Linked DNA regions of Homo sapiens: region 1 is linked to region 2. The links are contacts of gene promoters, found by promoter capture Hi-C in blood cells and fetal thymus (Javierre and others, 2016). All regions are on one chromosome and are shown on one strand. The core of a region is centred on a gene start or on the middle of the fragment in contact, and the rest is flanking DNA. Distances in the headings are between cores, read along the strand shown.

Evidence for each region. Contacts are between HindIII fragments. The CHiCAGO score rates a contact against its expected background, and 5 or more counts as called.
Region 1: a contact is called between a fragment that was not itself captured here and the fragment with the promoter of NXN in region 2, in 14 of 17 cell types (M2 macrophages, M0 macrophages, naive CD8 T cells and 11 more). The highest score is 18.0, in M2 macrophages.

The regions. Positions count from the first base shown.
Region 1 is chr17:150,771-153,470 of GRCh38, reverse strand. All of the region lies in intron 6 of DOC2B (double C2 domain beta), which reads left to right. Among named protein-coding and RNA genes, the nearest start is that of SCGB1C2, 15 kb to the right of the region's middle. The HindIII fragment of the contact is 3,739 bases long and covers 1-2,700 here.
Region 2 is chr17:978,472-981,171 of GRCh38, reverse strand. It overlaps NXN (nucleoredoxin), which reads left to right and starts at 1,396. Exons shown (of 8, transcript NM_022463.5): 1 at 1,396-1,853. The coding sequence starts at 1,494. RefSeq lists enhancers at 1-123, 1,548-2,483. The HindIII fragment of the contact is 5,276 bases long and covers 1-2,700 here.

The DNA of each region.
Region 1 (2,700 bases), core at 144-2,643, 830 kb after region 2:
CTGGCCTCCCAAAGGGCTGGGATTACAGGCGTGAGCCACTGTGCCCGGCCTATGGTGTGACATTTTTAAACCAGTTTCAATGCCCACCTGCCAGATGGACAGGAATTCCAGGGTCACCTGCTGGGTTGCCCAGAAAGCAGAGTCTTACCTGCTGTGACAGATGGTCTGGTCAACTTCCACAGGCAGGCGGGGGGCCATCTGGGCAGGGCCTGTCCACTGTACCACAAGCTCCTCCCTGCCACAGGTGGCTGCTGTGGGTGCTGCTGGACCCCTGCAGCTGGGTCCCACCTGCCAGCCGTGGGCCAGGTCACGTGGCCTTTCAAAGACAGGCCGAGCTGTGGGCCACTCCCTGTATCTGAGCCACGCCTCACCCGAGACCTCCACATCTGTTTCAGACACCCTGGGTGAGACACGACGGCTGCTGCTCGGGGCTCCTCAGGGGTCCCCGTCTCTGAAAGGCCCCTTCATGGACCAGGGGCCTCTTCCTCACTAAAGCAGAGGAAATAAGGGCACAGATTAGATGGTAAGAGGGGCACCCCTCAGCTGCATCCTAGACCTGGAAGAGAGTGTGACCTGTGCCCCAGAAGAAAGGGAGGGACGTATCTAGCGGTTGATGCTGAGGGCCAAAGCTAGATGGGTCAAGGCCTTTTGTCTGCACTATTATTTTTATTTGTTTTCTTTATTTCTTCCTTTCTTTTTTGAGACAGTGACTCACTCTGTCACCGGGCTGGAATGCAGTGATGCGATCACAGCTCACAGCAGCCTCAAACTCCTGGGCTCAAGCAGTCCTTCCCCCTCAGCCTCCTGAGTAGCTGGGACTACAGGTGTGCACCACCACGCCTGGCTAGTTGTTTTTTGTATTTTTTGTAGAGACTGGGTTTTGCCGTATTGGCCAGGCTGGTCTCAAACTGCTGGACTCAAACGATCCTCCTAGCTCGGCCTCCCAAAGTGCTGGGATTACAGGTGCAAGCCACCATGCCCAGCTAGCACCATTATTTTTATAAAGCTCATCTCTGGTGATACTTGCCCCAGTTTCCCCAGGCCGGAAGTTGACCCCAGGCCCAGCTCTTGAGGGTTTGATGGAAAACCCCAGGAGTAGCAGTGCCTGTGACAATCGCTGACATGTCGAGTTACACGTAATATCCCTGAGCTGCGCGATGGCTGCGTGTGACGCGCTCAGCAGCCTGTGCGGTCGCTCCTGTTGTTATCTCCATTTCATGCCCGTGAAAATGGCAGTAACTGGCAGCAACGTGCTGTGCCACCCTGGGCAACTCCCTTCTCTGGCTGTCTTATGTATAACCAGAAGGGGTTTCTTCTCAAAGCCACAGGCAAGCAGAAGGCACTGTGCAGAGGGCTCAGAGGTACACGGCACAGGGCGGCTCCGTGAGCCCCGGTGGCCAGGACCACTGTCCTGACAGCAAGGGAGGGAGAGACGCCACAGGGCGGGCCTCAGGGGCTTTGCAGGGTGGGCTTGTGCCAGAGTAGGGTATGCTCAGGGAGGGTGCTGAGGGATTTCCCCAGAGTGGTCAGGTGAGGAGGGAAGGGCACTTCTGGTAGAGAAAACAGCAGAACAGAGGGCAACGCTGGCGGAACTGTCCATGGCTGAAGGTGCCGAGGCTGGAGCCTGTCGTGGAAGTCTGGTGGCTGAGTGAGGGGTCACCAGATGGGCACAAGTTGTCCAGGCTGAGGGTGCAGAGATCCCAAAACAACTTTCCTTCCAGGGGCTTGTGAAGGCAGGGCACGCAGGACCCTTCTGTCCCTGCTCCTCACCCGTCACCAAACAGGCCAAGGACAGTTCACAGCAGACACAATATACCAATACCTAGAGAAATGGCCAAGGAGCATAGTAAGTAACTAAGGAAATCCGCTGTCTCCGGGTGGCGGGCTTAGGGGAATCCCCCCAAACTTTTTTAAAATCAGGTTTATTGAGGTACAGGTTGAGCGTCCCAAAGCTGTAAATCCAAAACCCCAAACATTCCAAGCACCGACATGACGCTCAAAGGGAATGCTTATTGGCGCGTTTGGGATTTCAGATTTTTGAATTTTTGAGTTAGGGATGCTGAACTGGTAAATATACTGCAAAGATTACAAAATATGAAAAAATCCAAAATTCAAAACATCTGGTCCAAGCATTTCAGATAATGGATCCTCAACCTGTATCATTCATATCCAGTGAGTTTTTCTTTTCTTTTCTTTTTTTAGAGACAGGGTTTTGCTCTGTTGTCCAGGCCAAAGTGCAGTGGCGCAATCATAGCTCATTGCAGCCTTGAACTCCTGGGCTCAAGCATCTTCCCACCTCAGCACTGTGAATAGCTGGGACTACAGGCATGCACCACCATGCCCAGCTAATTTTTAATTTTTTGGTAGAGATGGGGTCTCGCTGTATCACCCAGGCTGGGACAGTCTTGTTTCCACCACCAGAATCAACACAGAGAATATGACCCCAGAAAGTTCCCTGGCCCCAGGCAACCACTCACCTGTTTTCTGTCTCAATGGTGTTGCCGTTTCCAGACTTTCCCATGAAACAGTCAGATAGTGTGTTGCCCTGTGAGTCCGGCTTCTTTCACACGGAGGAATGCGTTTGAGATTCATCTGTCAGTTGCATGTACCAGGAGTTTGGTCCTTTTTGTTGCTAAGTGGTCTTCCATTGTGTGGGTAAACCACAAGTTTGTTGTTGATGAGTTCCCCAGTTGAAGGGCG
Region 2 (2,700 bases), core at 147-2,646:
GAGAGGGGCGGGTTTTCAGCTTTTATTTTTTTGCTTTCGCTGAGTCGTCAGTAGCTGATCCACACCGGCGGCCTGTTACTGTGGCTGGGCCCGGATCTGCACCTGCTTCGTGCACCAGTGGGTTGGGTTGGGGGGAGGCGCTGCGTGGCCAGAGTACTCGCCACGGACCACCTGTTTTTTTGTTTTTTTTGAGACGGAGTCTTGCTCTGTTGCCCAGGCTGGAGTGCAATGGAGCGATCTCGGCTCACTGCAGCCTCCGTCTCCCGGCTTCACGCCATTCTCCTACCTCAGCCTCCTGAGTTGCTCGGATTACAGGTGCCTGCCACTACACCCCGCTAATTTTTGTATTTTTAGTAGAGGCGGGGGGGGGGTGTCACCATATTGGCCAGGCTGGTCTCGAACTCCTGACCTTGTGATCCACCCACCTCGGCCTCCCAAAGTGCTGGGAATTCAGGCGTGAGCCACCGCGCCCGGCCCAGACCACCTGTTTAATCCAGCTTCTCCCTAAGCATTGGGGAGCATCCTGCCAGCTGGTAGGAAAAAAAAAATCTCTAGAAATGTTCTCAACTATCCATAGACTTGACATGAGGATGGAGCGGATTCAGGAGCGCGGCCAGCATTGGTCTGGAGGCCCCGCGGCGTCCTTTGCATCCATTTGTGGGGCTGGAAGACAGATTCGCTGGGGGGAGAGGCCCCGGCGACCCCTGGACGGAAATCCCACACTGAGACCTGGCACCCTAACCAGACCCCACCAGAAGCTGCGAGGGCGTCCTCGGCCCCCTTAGAACAGCTTGGAACACACAGAGGAGTCAGTGTCCAGCCAGGCCCGGCCTGATGCAGTGAGGACGGCGGGTCCTATAAGCATCTCAGGGTCAGTGGGGCCCGGAGCGGCCTAAGGGTCAGGCTTCGTGCAGGGAGAGGAGGAGGGAAAGGCCGGGGAGGAACAGGAAGAGGGTGAAGAGCTCCGCGGGGAGGGGGCGGGATCCCTGGAGGTCTGGAGGGAATTTAGAACTGGGGAGGAGAGAAAATGCGGGCCGGGCTGCAGCCCGGGAAAGCGCCGGCTCAGCGGGCCCTTCTCCTTTCTTCACTTCGGCCGTGGGCTTTCCAGGGAGAGTGCGGCGTTTCGGGTCCGGCTTCTCGCCCAAGCAGTCACCCCGCGCACCGCGGCCGGCAGCTGCGGACCCCGCCTGGGCGGAGAGCTCTGGCCACCGCCGGCCGCAAACGGGGCGTGGCGAGGGCGGAGGGGGCGTGGCGAGGGCGGGCGGAGGGGCGTGGCGAGGGCAGCCGAAGGGGCGTGGCGCGGGCCGCGGAGGGGGCGTGGCAGGGCGGGGGAAGGGGCGTGGCGCGGGCAGGCGGAGGGGGCGTGGCGTGGGCGGCCCTACTGGGCCGGGCTCTGCTCTCCCCAGCGCCTGCCGCCGACGCCGCCGCCTCCTCCCGCCGCGCGGACCGTGGAGCGGGGTCGCAGCCGCCTGCCCGCCCTGCGGTGGGCCAGGATGTCGGGCTTCCTGGAGGAGCTGCTCGGCGAGAAGCTGGTGACGGGCGGCGGCGAGGAGGTGGACGTGCACTCGCTGGGCGCCCGCGGCATCTCGCTGCTGGGTCTCTACTTCGGCTGCAGCCTCAGCGCCCCCTGCGCGCAGCTCAGCGCCAGCCTGGCCGCCTTCTACGGGCGCCTGCGGGGGGACGCGGCGGCCGGGCCGGGGCCGGGAGCGGGGGCCGGGGCGGCGGCGGAGCCCGAGCCGCGGCGGCGCCTGGAGATCGTCTTCGTGTCCTCGGACCAGGACCAGCGGCAGTGGCAGGACTTCGTGCGGGACATGCCGTGGCTGGCGCTGCCCTACAAGGAGAAGCACAGGAAGGTGAGCGGCGCGGGCCTCGCCGGCCCCTGCCCGCCCCCCACGCCCGTTACCCCTGCCCGCCCCCCACGCCCGTTACCCCTGCCCTCCGCCAACCCCGTTGTCCCCCTGCCCGCCCTCCACCCCCCGACCCCTGCCCCCAGTCCCCCGCCCCCCGACCCACTGTCCTCTCCCCGCCCCCCACCCCGCCGTCCCCGCCTCTGCCCCCCCCCCTTCCGCGCTGTGCCCGCACCCTCATCCCAGGACCCCTCTTTGGTTCGAGTGCTGCGCTGCGCCCGCCCTGGAAAGTTGGACCCCCCTCGGCCCCCGGGATCCCGGCTCGAGCCCCTCCGTCCGCACACGCTGGGAGCCTCGGGTGGGGGCGGCTGCGCTCGGGGATCCCGGTTCCGCGACCCCTTCACCCGCGAGCAGAGGCGCCAGGCCCTTCCTGCCTCCGCCGCCGACCCCCGCGGATTCCCACAGTGGGGAGGGGAGGGGAGGGGAGGGCGCACGCCCCCCGCCCGTGGCGCCCAAACCAGCGCGTTTCCTTTCTTTCCGGGAGAAACCTGCCTTCCCGGAGCCCCTTCCCCGGGGACCGGGGACCTGGGGGCCGAGGCCGAGGTCAGGAGAGGCGGCCGGTGACCGTGGCCGTGGCTGTGGCCGAGAAGGGCGCTCACGGCTCCGTCTCCCGCCCCCGCCTCCCCCGCCCCAGGCTGAGTTCGCGGCCACCGGGGAGCTTTGCATTGTCTGGCCGTCCAGCCTCCTCCCCAGACGCCTCCCGGGCGCGGGAACAGCCCGGGCTGTGCAGAGCTCAGCTGCGTGGTGGCCCCTGTGGTCCCGGGGTCTTCGAGTTAAGGGCTGAGCTGACCCC